Regions from separate parts of the Homo sapiens genome. Here all the other regions are linked to region 3. Evidence: promoter capture Hi-C in human tissues and cell types (Jung and others, 2019). All regions are on one chromosome and are shown on one strand. Each heading gives the region's core, a stretch centred on a gene start or on the middle of the fragment in contact. The rest is flanking DNA. Distances are from core to core; before and after follow the strand shown. Region 1 overlaps SIRT3 (sirtuin 3). Region 2 overlaps PSMD13 (proteasome 26S subunit, non-ATPase 13). Region 3 holds the start of DEAF1 (DEAF1 transcription factor).

What was found. Contacts are between HindIII fragments. The study calls those that stand out against the background at their distance.
Region 1: a contact is called between a fragment that was not itself captured here and the fragment with the promoter of DEAF1 in region 3, in 1 of the 25 tissues and cell types used here (lymphoblastoid cells).
Region 2: a fragment that was not itself captured here is called in contact with the fragment with the promoter of DEAF1 in region 3 in 1 of the 25 tissues and cell types used here (hippocampus).

What each region holds. Positions count from the first base shown.
Region 1 is chr11:222,298-226,355 of GRCh38, forward strand. It overlaps SIRT3 (sirtuin 3), which reads right to left. Exons shown (of 7, transcript NM_012239.6): 5 at 1,781-1,942. Among named protein-coding and RNA genes, the nearest start is that of SIRT3, 12 kb to the right of the region's middle. The HindIII fragment of the contact is 4,124 bases long and covers 668-4,058 here.
Region 2 is chr11:247,419-252,006 of GRCh38, forward strand. PSMD13 (proteasome 26S subunit, non-ATPase 13) reads left to right here. Exons shown (of 13, transcript NM_002817.4): 7 at 1-30; 8 at 1,358-1,437; 9 at 1,514-1,639; 10 at 3,385-3,447; 11 at 4,128-4,208; 12 at 4,402-4,518. Among named protein-coding and RNA genes, the nearest start is that of PSMD13, 13 kb to the left of the region's middle. The HindIII fragment of the contact is 4,260 bases long and covers 1-3,380 here.
Region 3 is chr11:692,729-697,144 of GRCh38, forward strand. It overlaps DEAF1 (DEAF1 transcription factor), which reads right to left and starts at 2,494. Exons shown (of 12, transcript NM_021008.4): 1 at 2,031-2,494. The coding sequence starts at 2,319. TMEM80 (transmembrane protein 80) reads left to right here and starts at 3,088. Exons shown (of 5, transcript NM_001042463.3): 1 at 3,088-3,118. The coding sequence starts at 3,100. RefSeq lists silencers at 1,866-2,115, 2,136-2,255, 2,266-2,565, 3,066-3,485 and enhancers at 1,931-2,470, 2,471-3,012, 3,013-3,552, 4,093-4,416. The HindIII fragment of the contact is 41,051 bases long and covers 1-4,416 here.

The DNA of each region.
Region 1 (4,058 bases), core at 1,480-3,979, 470 kb before region 3:
GCTCAACACCTCCAGTCCGCAGCACATCCTCAAATCCGTGGAAACAAGGCTGAGTTCCTGAGCTCCCCCAAACCCACCTACCAGGCTTCTCCATCTCAGGAAGCGGCGGCTCCGTCTTTCCAGCTGCTCCAGCCACAGCCCTGGGGTCCTTGGGAATCCACGGCCTCCCATGCACTGTGCCAGCGTACCCACTCTGCGTTCACACACACCCAGACTCCAGCACCCCTCAGCCTCTGCTGGCTTTACCTGGCCCCCAGCCAGTGCCAGCCGGTGATTACCTACAAGGGCCCTGCTGGGTCTGCTGCTCCCAGTCTTGCCCCCATGGTGGGCTCACAGCCCAGCACCCAACGGAGTCCTCTCAACTTCAGACTCTGGCCTGGAACCCAAGCTGAACCCATTCACCTTCTGAGGTGGCGCCAGCCTCCCATGAGATGACACTTGTGCCCCACCTTCTTCTCTGCTCCAGCCCCGTGGCCATCAATGCTGACTTCGCCCCACCCTCCTTGCTGCTTGTCACCTGTGCAGTGTCCCCTGCCAGACCCTCCTCACCTCGGTAAACTCTTAGATCCAACTCCACCTGCCTGACTTGACACTGCAGCTGGTTCCCAACCCTTCTAGCCTTTCTATCCTACTTGTTATCTTTCTCATAACATCAATCATCTCCTAACAAACTATATAACTTCTTACACTGACATCTGACCGTGTATGTCCAAAGCACTGGAGCAGGGCCCAGCACACAATGAATGCCTGAACAAACACATGCTCTGGGCCCCTGTGGCTGCCCTGGGCCCCTCTGAGCACAGGTCTTTCTGGCCCTTCTGTCCTCGGTGCCTACATCCAGTCACGCACACACTGACTTCATGGTCTCATTTCTTGCTCTCATCACAGCTTTTAGGAATTTCCTGAGCTGCAGACGCAGACGCAGAACAGCTGCTTGAACACATCCAGGGCATGTTTCCCGACACCTCAGACACACACAGAACCGAGCTGGGCATCCTCCCTCCCAAATCACGCCTCACCAGCAAGTGCCCTGACCTTACAGACCAAGCCAGACGCCTCCTTCTCACGTCCCCAAAACATCACAGACTGCGAGTCCAGTCCCCCTCCTCGCCATCCCTCAGGCGACCACAGCTCCACCTTCTCCAGGACCAGCCTCCTGGCACTGCTTGCTCCACTCTCCACTCCCCAAAGGCCTCCCTGACCCCAAGGGTGCAGCTACGTCCCCGGGCCAGTCCCTGTGGATTTATCACTCCTCCCACTGCAGCATCAGTATTCCTGATCTGACCTGGGAGGCCCTGCCCCTCCACCTCGCCCCCACACCCCCATCCTTCTCCCTTCTCCTCACACGTGGTGCCCCACCCACACCTATACCACCTCCAAAGCCCAGCAGCTTCCCACCTTCCTGTCTCCTGCACAGGCTGCTGCTCCCTCAGCCTGGAACCCCAGCTGAATCCATTCACCTTCCCAAAGTGGCACCAGCCCTGGAAGGGCCCATGAGATGACTCCTGTACCCCTCCCTTCCCCTGCCCTCCAGCCTCCTCCCTGCACAGGCCTGCCGACAGCCCATGAGATGACTCCTGTACCCCTCCCTTCCCCTGCCCTCCAGCCTCCTCCCTGCACAGGCCTGCCGACAGCCCATGAGGTGACTCCTGTACCCCTCCCTTCCCCTGCCCTCCAGACTCCTCCCTGCACAGGCCTGCCGACAGCCCATGAGATGACTCCTGTACCCCTCCCTTCCCCTGCCCTCCAGCCTCCTCCCTGCACAGGCCTGCTGACAAACCTCCAGGGAGGTCCCAAGGATGAGCAGCAGATCTGCCATGGGGAAATCAACCACATGCAGCAAGAACCTCTGGGGCAGCGGCTCCCCAAAGAACACAATGTCGGGCTTCACAACGCCGGTGCAGACCGGGCAGCGGGGAACCCTGTCTGCCATCACGTCAGCCTGGAAAACAGAGAAAACAGGCCTGAGGAAGATGCCTGCAACACCCTGTAAAAGGAAAAGGCAACAAGTTCTTATTAAAGTCTCAAACATTCTCCCCCAAAAAAGGTGAGAGAGGGATCATGAACCCCCATGTACCCAGCTTCAGGAATTACCAGTTTTCATAGCTAATTGTTTCACAGCCCTCCGGAATCTGGGAGGAGGTATTGGAGCCTTTAAAAGCAAATCTTGGACATCATATGTTTCACCCATAATTACTTCGGCAGGCATCTAGCGTATCTAACACCATGCTCTATCCCTGGGATGGCAGCCAGAGACATCCAGGCGCTAAGGAAACACCTGGTAGACCACACCAGTCCTCAAACAGTAGTCTGCAGGCATTTGGCCTACACCGAACACTATTCAGTCAGAAAGGTGAAACTGTCTCTGGTTTGAGCTTCGGTGATCATGCCATTGCCTCAGCCCTGGGAGGCATTCAGGTCAGCTTCACTCACTGGCTGGCATTATTAGGAGTAACAACATCTGCCAAACACTGCTTCCTTACTGGCCAAGGTGAAGTGGACACAACTTCCCTTTGCGTCAAGATTAATATAAATAAATGCCTTGGAGCAGATGGAAAAGGGAGAGAGTTACAGAGGAAGACACCTGACTTTCTAAGGTAAACCTTTACAGCTAACGGGGCTTGTTTTAAGCAGGCTCAGCCCAGCAAAAAGCAACAGATACAAAAGACAAAAGAAAGAGACCCACGAAAGATTTCAGATATTCTTGGATACACAGTAAAACTGTATTATATTTAAATTAAAAAGAAAAAACTGTTATCTTGGAGGCATGGGGTATAGCAAAAAAAAAAATTAAGGAAGCAAAAAAAAAAGATGAACTTGAAATATCTATCAAAGGCCAGGCGCAGTGGCTCAGCTCTGTAATCCCAGGACTTCGGGAGGCCGAGGTGGGCAGATCACGAGGTCAGGAGATCGAGACTGTCTTGGCCAACATGGTGAAACCCTGTCTCTACTAAAACACAAAAAATTAGCCAGGCGTGGTGATGCGTGCCTGTAATCCCAGCTACTTGGGAGGCTGAGGCAGGGGAATCACTTGAACCTGGGAGGCGGAGGTTGCTGTGAGCTGAGATTGCACCACTGCACTCCAGCCTGGGCAACAAAGCGAGACTCTGTCTCAAAAAACAAAACAAAACAAAACAAAACAAAAAACTATCTATTAAAGATATAAAATTATTAAAAAATTATGTAATAATGTAGCAGACTTGAAAAATAACCAAATAGAACTTCTAGAAATAAAAAGTACAGGAACCAAAATTAAAACTCAATGTCTGTTTTGAGTTGCTGTTTGGGAAAAAAGAAAGAAAGAAACACTCAATGGAAGGACCTTATAACAGAATACAATATTAGTAAACTGGAAAAAAGACCAGAAGAAATTACCCAGAATGCAGCACAAGAAGCAGCAATTACAGGACAGAAGAGTGATCAGGAACAGCAGGAGAGAGAAGGTCTAATGTATGTTCAATCAGAGGTCCCTAAAGAGAGGGGCCAGATAGTGGGCTAGGGGCAACTCATATCCGAAGAGATAACGGCAGAGTATGATCCAGCAACCATGAAAGACGCCAACCCGCAGATTCAGGATCTCAAGCAAGTGAGGGCTACTGAGCCAGCCTGAGGGTGCCCACAGGAAAAACATGAGTCACGGCACATCTGTGCTTGTTTCTGTCCCAAGAGGTTCTCAGGAGGTTTAGTAATTACATGTGGTCCTTCAAAGAGGGAGGGTGGCTGTGAGGTGAGTGGTTACGTACTTGTGAGACTTCAGTAAGTGCCCAGTAAATGTACATTTTACCTAAGATAGAAGGAAACAGAGGAAGAGAACTAAGCAGACCTCTCAGGGAAGGGTGAAGGAACCATTAATCTCATCTTGTCTTTAATCTGTATCTGGGAAGATAAACCAGTAATCCACATTAGCAGTGTAGAGTCTTTGAAAAGGGCTGGTTTCTGTTTAGCCCTTAGTGAAGAAGCCTAATGGTGGCTGGGGAGGGAGGGGTACAGTGAGGCGCGTCTGACCTCCTCTCCTGCTACGGCCAGGAACTCAAGCTTCCAAGGTTTCTCTGGGGTTC
Region 2 (4,588 bases), core at 1-2,500, 450 kb before region 3:
TGGGCTGTGTTGACATCAAGGATCTACCAGGTAACCTAGGCCATTAAATCCATGTCACACAGGAGCATATTCTCCAAACTTAGCATCTGTGAGTTGCTTGAGGTGACAGTTCTCAGAAATTACTAAGGTGGGGCTGGGCACGGTGGCTCACGCCTGTAATCCCAGCACTTTGGAAGGCTGAAGTGAGTGGATCACCTGAGGTCAGGAGTTCGAGACCAGCCTGGCCAACATGGTGAAACCCTGTCTCTACTAAAAATACAAAAAACTAGCCAGGTGTGATGGTGGGTGCCTGTAATCCCAGTTACTCAGGAGTCTGAGGCAGGAGAATCACTTGAACTCGGGAGGTGGAGGTTGCAGTGAGCCAAGATTGTACCACTGCACCCCAGCCTGGGTGACAGAGCGAGACTCCATCTCATCCAAACAAAAAAGAAATTACTCAGATGGATTCATCCTGTTTTGAAGAAAAAAATGGGAAGATTTGTGTAACCTTTAGTTTCTACATTATATTTGTCTCCAGCATTTAATTTACATGAAAATGAGGCTAATTCCTCCTCGCTCCTTCACTGTCCCTTCTCCAGTCCCTCACTGTTACCTAAGCCACAGGTATTTGTAGGAAGCACCATGACGCCAACACCTTCTGAGCCCTCCCCGCCCACCCCTCTGCTGCAGAATAAAGGGCACGTGAAATCCCTGTAGCTGAGACCCTTGTTTTGAAAACTGAAATTCCAGACCCATGGGGACAAATTATTAAATCTTTCAAGGATTTGAGAGTGGAAAGAAAATGACCTGTGAGTTTTGGAAAAAGTGTAAGGAATATATGTTCAGAAAATAAATTTTCAGCATATTTTAGATGTTTCTCACAAAACACTGTTGAAGCTAAGGAGACCAGCAACTCTTAACAGTGTTGATGCAGTTTTTATTACTGTATGTCAAGAAAAATATATCGGAAAAGGAACTAAGGTGGTCAAGAGAACAATAGACTTGCTGTCTAGGAACAGAAAGTAAGTTAGTTCTGGTCTGAAAAGAAGCTAGGTTAGGTAACTTAAATTTATTCCTTGCCATAGCAGAAAAGAGATTTAAGGCACTTCCTGGAAGTGGCACAGCTGAAAATATGAATAGATTCACATATATTTAGGAAAAAATAAATGAATGCTCCTCCCAAAAAACCCATGTATATATGGTTCTTGGTATAATCTAAGTCAACCCAATACTTCAGAAGAGGTGACTAATGTCAAGGCTTTGTAATAACAACCATTACAAACAATGTTTTTTTACTTTTTGTTATATGAGATTTTTAAAGCTAAACAGGACTGATTATTATGACTGGATTGTAAGTGGGCCTGTGTTGCTACCATAGTGTCTGAGCAGCAGGAGAGAGCCTTCACGCTGGGGCTAGCAGGACTTCTCGGCGAGGGAGTTTTTAACTTTGGAGAACTCGTAAGTTGACCCTGAGCTCAGCTTCCTTAACGAGAGAGACTAAAGTGTTACTAGCTGACCATCTCCATCCTCACAGCTCATGCACCCTGTGCTGGAGTCCCTGAGGAATACTGACCGGCAGTGGCTGATTGACACCCTCTATGCCTTCAACAGTGGCAACGTAGAGCGGTTCCAGACTCTGAAGACTGCCTGGGGCCAGCAGGTAGGACTCCCACGATGCCCAGCCCTTATTCCCCCATGTATCTACTCGCTCATACAACAGATGTTCATTGAGCGTCTTCCCTAGGCACACAGGAAAGAACAGGGCAAAGAGGAGACCAAGATAGGCTAGTCCTTGCTCTCATAGAGCAGAGAGTTAAGTGGTTGGTTAGCTACAGCATTACTCAGTGCTGCAGACAAAGAGTGAGGGTGTTCTGAGAAAACAGAATCGAATGTGGGCCCTGCATCTACGCTGGGTGGAGGGGGTGTCACAGAAGATGTAGAAGTCATAGTGACCTAAGGTCTGTGTGACCTTAGGAATGAGTGAAGAGGTACGGGAAGAGTGCACTCAGCGGAGAAAACGGAAAAGTTTAGTATCTTTGCTGAACTGAAAGAGGGATGTGTGAGGCTAACATGAGTGGGTGGGAGAGAGCATGGGATGAAGGAGGAACAAATGCCTGGTGAAGAGAATGGGAGAGCGGTGGGTGCAGGGAGGGGGAGAGCGGCGGGTGCGGGGAGGGGGAGAGCGGCGGGTGCGGGGAGGGGGAGAGCGGCGGGTGCGGGGAGAGGGAGAGGTCCATGCAGGGAGAACAGCCAATTCACCTCAGTGCAAGGGGAGGGCAGGCACTGGGTGAAGTTGTCTCTGGAAGGTGGGAGTTAGGGAAAGGTGCTCAACAAGGGCTTGAGCTTTAATGATAAGTATGTTCTTTTTTAATGAGATTATTAGAAGTAAATATTAATAAAATGTTAACTGTGGTAGGAATTATGGTTATTTTTGTATTTTTCTGAAACTTTCAATTTTCTCAGTTTAAAATAAACTTGTAAAATTCATGCATAGTGGAGCAGGGTAGATATAGATGAAGGCACTGTGAAGAGGCAGAAAGCACAGATGCAGCCAGACCTAACTGTGGTCTGATTATTTATTGATATCTCAAAAAAAGGTGACACTCAGAAAGGAAGATGGCTAGTTATAGCAATTTAAAGAAAAAAAAAAAATCGTAGATGCATGTTGGCAGCATCTATTCAGGCAGCAAAGCCTGTCTGGAGGGGTAGTGAGCCCTTTACAGAGCTTGACCTGTCCAGTACTTGTGGCAGAAATGTCCCCATCGGGGCTACCTGTGTCAGGATATGAGTTGCTATTTGAATTAAAACAACAAGTCTCCTTGGTTTAATTCTGTGCTCACAGGTAACGTTTTGATCCATAAGAAGAGATGATGCATATCTTGCAGAAGCGTATATTCTAGTTCTCAGGACAATGATATTTTTCATTATAAATTAATAACTTGCTCTTTTGATTCAGAACAAGTCTCTAGAACTTAAGGAAGCTTTTCCTCAGAGGGGCTCCACTTGCACTGGCTCACTGAGCCGGCAGCAGCCCTTGAAAGAACCCCCCTGGGCAGTAGGGTGTATCCTTCCCAACAGCACCTTGACCAGGAGAGTCTTCTCGAAATGCCCGTACCCTGTGGCCCTGCCTAATGGTGTCTGTAGCATTAATACAAATCTTACCTTGTAAATTCCTTGCCTTGACAAAGTGTCCCAGTTAGGTGCGACTCTTTCCATTTCCTAAGAAGAATGAAGCTCAGATCACTTGTTGTTAATGAGCTTCAGCAGTCTGCAATGTGAAATGTTTGGATCTGCTTAGCTGGTTTTTGTTGGGTCTACTGTTATAGAACGAATTCCAGATCCCCAGTTAAGTAACTGATAAGCACAAACATGGAAGACATTTTTCTGTCTTTCTATACTTTACAGCCTGATTTAGCAGCTAATGAAGCCCAGCTTCTGAGGAAAATTCAGTTGTTGTGCCTCATGGAGGTAAGCGAACACCCAGGAGCCACTTTGTCTGTGGTTTCAGATTTTGGTCAGGTGGGGGCGCTGCACTCTCCAAGCCTGTGCTGAGCAGTGTGAGCTTTCAGTGGTGCTGCTTCTGCTGTGCGCCGCTCTCTTCACCACCTTCCTTTTCCTTTGCTACCACTTGCTCTTCTAAGTTTATATTTGGCTCTTAGCTCAGACGACACCCTCCCACCCCACTGCCACCACCCTGAGGCCTTCCCTGACCATCTGAACTGAGATGAAGTAGCTGCCCCTCTCCCCGTGATGCAGTTGTTGCCTCATTGCATGTCGCTTCTTGTGTACACGCACATCTGTCTTTCCCCACTAGAACTTAAGCTTCGTCAGGAAGTGGCCCTTAGATTTCTGGTTTGCCGTGGTCACCCCTGGTCAACCCTGGCAAATTGTGGCCTCAAGTACTTGTTCGGGGATTGAACAATGGCTACTGTCAGAAACTCCTGTAAGGCATTTTGCTGTTATCCTTCTTATCTAAGCATTAAAAGCTTGTTCTTAACAAGATATATGTCTAATATTAGGAAACTTTTTAGTATGTGGGGTACTAATAAGATCTCTATTTTCAGAGCCAATATTGACAAAACATCCTTATCAGTTCTCTATTTTTATTTGGAAAAATAGTTTAAAATAGTTAATAAAATTTTTTCCAGATGACTTTCACACGACCTGCCAATCACAGACAACTCACTTTTGAAGAAATTGCCAAAAGTGCTAAAATCACAGTGAATGAGGTACGGTCCCTAGGCTCAGGGTGTTAGAGCAGCAAAGCTGCCACATGGAGGAGTCAAGGCTCTTGTGTGAGCGCTGTGCTCCCTAGACAGTAAAAAATGACGGGAGGAGCGGCATCTGCTTCTCACAAGCCATCTGGGTCCATGGGGGTGTGTCAGGCTATCTTGTCTTACACACGCCTCCCTCTCTGCACAGGTGGAGCTTCTGGTGATGAAGGCCCTTTCGGTGGGGCTGGTGAAAGGCAGTATAGACGAGGTGGACAAACGAGTCCACATGACCTGGGTGCAGCCCCGAGTGTTGGATTTGCAACAGGTGATGTGTTTGAAACCCATTATTCACCTCTGTGGATTTTGAGGGGTTGTGTCTATACCGTCTTAGTTTC
Region 3 (4,416 bases), core at 1,244-3,743:
GTAATCCCAGCTACTCGGGAGGCTGAGGCAGGAGAATCACTTGAACCCGGGAGGCGGGAGGTTGCGGTGAGCTGAGATCACACCATTGCACTCCAGCCTGGGCAACAAGAGCGAAACTCCGTCTCAAAAAAAAAAAAAGGCATGTTTGCTGTCTGTCTCCACGACCAGACCACACCAGGTGCACGGTTCCCTCATCCTCGCCTCTCAGCACCACAAGCCCCGGCATGCGGCGCGCGGCCACAGTGAGTGCTCAACGCCAGGCCCATGGCAGCCCTGGGAGCAGCCGCCCAAAGCCTCCTCAGGCGGCAGCGTGTCCTGCTGAGTTACTTAAACCTGGAAACCACTTGACGTCAGCTGTTCGTAATTTTTAAAAAGTATTAAAGTGCTTTTACCACATCAAAACACAACTACCATATTTTTCAGAAGAAAACACACGTCAGCACATTTCTCTGACATCATGATGAACAGCATCATTTTTCTTTTATGCATTCAGAAAAATACGTGCAAAAATGACAAAAACCTGAAATCAACCTCATGGCTCCAAATCCCAACGTCAAACCAGAGTTTAGCGACGGACGCCAACCCCTGAGAGTCACAAAGCCTTCCCTCACTTTTTTTTCTTAACCAACCAAACAAGCAGCAGTGACCCCTTTGCCTTCGAGGGCCACTCAGCTGACCAAGGGCAGCCCAGACGCTGCTGGCCCCCACCCAGCCCCCAGGCCGAACAAGCACCCAGAGCACACGCAATGCCCTGACATACCCAGCACACCAGGACTGGGATCCAGTTCCTCAACCCGCAAAGCTCCGTAGGGGAAAAGTGCCTCACAACGCAACAAGAAGCTCCTCCCAAGGGTCTCAACACTGAGCTGTGAGTCCCTGGGGGACACTCGGGAACTCCAATGGGGAAGAATACAGTGCGTTAGGAAGCCAGTGGGTGGGGAAGTCTATGCCCCACGGACACAAGGGCGGGACACAGGAGGTGGGTGGACGGCACCAGCCCCGTAGGGCATCTGTGAGCTCTGCCACGGGCTCCCAGTGTTTTGGAGCCTGAGAAGGAGACTGACCTGTGTGGCAAGAAACTATAAGCAGCTTATATAAAAATGTGGACTGGAAAGCCACAGCAGCCTCCCCAAAGGAAGCCCGACAGGAAGCGGGGCAGGAGGAGCAGGTCCTTAGGGAAAAAGGCAAGAGGAAGAGGGAGGACTGGGAGGGGAGCCTGCACAGGTGGCTCCGCAGCCCCCCTGGGCCACCACACAGCCACGCTGACCTCTGGCATCATGGCCTCCAGCAGGCTGCCCACCCCTGGCTCCCCAGCGCTCAGGTCATGCCTGAACTGGCCCTCAGGAAGTGGGGGGTTCCTGGTGACCACAGGTGCCCACCCACCCCAGGGCTTCTCCAGGACAGGTGGGGGGAGCCAGGATGGACGAAGGCAGGGCAGGGGCAGAGCTGCACAGGGGGGACCAGTAGGAGGCGGGGCTGCCACAAAGAAAAGGGGGGCAGGGGGCAGGTGTGTGCAGGGCAGGGCCAGGTCAGGTGAGGCTAGGCAGGTCACCAGGGGCAGGTGTGCGGGGCAGGTGTTTGGGGTAGGTGGGGCAGGCTGGTCACCTGGGGCAGGTATGTGGGGCAGGTGTGCGGGGCAGGTAGGGCAGGCCGATCACGTGGGGCAGGTGGGGAAGGCTGGAAACGTCGAGCAGGTGTGCGAGGCAGGTATTTGTGGCAGGTGGGGCAGGCTGGTCACCTGGAGCAGGTACGTGGGGAAAGTGTGAGGGGCGGGTGGGGCAGGTGTGAGAGGCAGATGTGAGGGGTGAGCTAGTCACGTGGGGCAGGTGTGCAGGGCGGGTGGGGCGGGCGGGTCACGTGGAGCAGGTGTGAGGGGCAGGTGTGCAGGGCGGGTGGAGCGGGCTGGTCACGTGGAGCAGGTGTGAGGGACAGGTGTGGCGGGCTGGTCACCTGGGACAGTTGTGCGGGGCAGGCGCGCGGGGTAGGCGCGCGGGAACCGGACGAGGCGAGAGGCCGGCGGGCGCACTTGCCTGCGAAGGCTGCGGCAGCGGCGGCCTCGTCGGGGCCGGGCAGGGCCTCGGCGCCCATGTCCATGTGCCCGGGCTCCGCCGCCATCACCGCCACTGCCGTGACCCGCGGCGTCTCCCGCTCCGCCTCCGAGTCTGCGTCCTCCTCCGAGTCCTCGTCCCTGCTCAGCACCGGCTCCTCCGCCTCGCCTCCTGCCGCGGCCGCGGCCGCCGCCGCCACAGCGGCCGCGGCCGCCACCGCCGCCGCCTCAGCCAGGCCCAGCTGCTTTGCCGCCGAGTCCGAGTCCTCCATCCGGACTCCGCCGAGCCTTCCCGAAGGCGCCGTCCGGGACCGCCCGAAGCGCCGGTCGCGGAGCCCGAAGCGGGGCCCGAAGAGGACGCCCGAGCTGGGCCGAGGCCGCCCGAAGCCGCCGCCCGAATAGGGACCGAAAAGGCAGCCAGCCGCCGAGCAGAGCCGAGCCGAGTCCGCCCGCGGAGCGGAGCCGAGGCGAACAGAGGCTGCCCGAGTAGGAGCCGAACCTGCACGAAGCCGCCGAGCCGAGACCGAGTCCTGAACCGAGGAGGGTCGAAGTTCCCCGAAGTGGGAAGCCGAATCAGTCCGAATAGGTCCGAGTCCTCACGAGGGCTTCCGAGAGACTCGGCCCCTGCTCTCCTCACTGTCCTGACAGGCTGAGGCGGCTGTCGTCCCCGGCCGACAGGGCTGGACGGCTCTAGGCAGATTCTCGCCGGCGGCCGGCGCAATTCTGCCTCTCAGAGAGAGCTTAGTGCCGCGGGTTTCGCCCGTTCCCGCCGCCGGCGGAAGCCGAGTCAGCCCGAGGCCGAGCCGAGACGAGCCGAATGTCCCCGAGGCCGAATGCTCCCGAACGTCGGTTCTCCACCTCTTCCCTTCCGAAAGTGCCCGAGCGGTGCCGGACGGACTAATCGGGCCTCGGCCGTGGCTCGGACGTCCGCTCCCGAAACGCGGCGCGGTCGGGCCCCTTCGTCAGGAGACGCGAAAATGGCCGAAGGAGCGCGAGCGCGCGGGCCGAGAGGCTGCCGGGATCGCGACGGACCGGCGGGCGGGGCGGGTAAGATGGCGGCCCCGCGGCGAGGTGAGCTCGGGCGGGGTGGGGGCTTCCGGGCTTGCAGCGGCGGGCGCGGCGTTTCCCTGTGGTGACAATCCGGTTTCCGCTTTCGGTGCGCTCACGGGGCCGTGCCACCGTCTCTACGTGAGCGAGACAGCTCCGTCACCCCATCGAGAAGCGCGGCCTGGCCTGGCCTGGGTGGCGGGCGTCCTGCACCCCGAAGAGCTCCCCCGCGCGCGGGCGCCTGGCCCCGGGCAGGGTGGGTGCGGAGCGGCTCTGGGGGCCCCAGTCCCCGGCAGCTCTTGTCCCGCGCGTGGTTTTTGTGAAGACACGTGGGCGGGATGGGCGCAGGGTTTCGGTAGCCTTGGAACTCTCGCCAAAGAAAATCGCGGGCGCCGGTGCCTCAGCCGTCCTGCCTGAGAGACTCGCCTCCGAGAGGAGGAAGGGACAGACCAAAGCAGTAAATCGGCCATCCTGCAGAGGAGCCGCCTTCTGCTGTCTGTGGGTACAGCCAGAACTCCCATACGCGGGCGCTGAAGTGCCAAACCTTCGTGCGTGTTCTCTAGTAATTAGGTGCATTGTTTTGAAGGAATAAAGAATGGCTACTCCATAGGCAGGACAGCCTCTAGTAACCAGGTTTGTTTTGTGTATTTTCATTTGGTTAAAAATTAAGTTTAGGTTGGGCGCAGTGGCTCAGGCCTGTAAGCCTGACAGTTTGGGAAGCCGAGGCTGCAGGATCATTTGAGGCCAGCCTGGGCAACATAGCAAGACCCCCTCTATAAAAAAAAAACTGTAAACATCAGCCAGGCGGTGGCGCACCCCTGTGGGCCAAGCTATTCTGGAGGCTGAGGCTGGCGGATCACTTGAGCCCAGGAGGTCGAGGTTGCAGTGAGCCGTGATGGCGCCACTGCACTCCAGCCTGGGCGACAGAGCGAGACCCCCTTCTACAAAAAAAAAATTAAAAATTACCCCGGGGAAGGCCAGGCGCAGTAGCTCACGCCTGTAATCCCAGCACTTTGGGAGGCCAAAGCGGGCGGATCACCTGAGGTCGAGGGTTCAAGACCAGCCTGACCAACATGGAGAAACCCCGTCTCTACTAAAAATACAAAATTAGCCTGGCGTGATGGTGCATGCCTGTAATCCCAGCTACTTGAGAGTCTGAGGCAGGAGAATTGCTCGAACCCGGTGGTGGTGGTGGGGGGGGTGGGGTGCGGAGGTTGCAGTTGGCCAAGATCGCACCATTGCACTGCAGCCTGGGCAACAAGAGCGAAATTCTGTCTCAAAAAAAAAAAAAATTACCTCAGGGAGCCTGTGGTCCCAGCTAC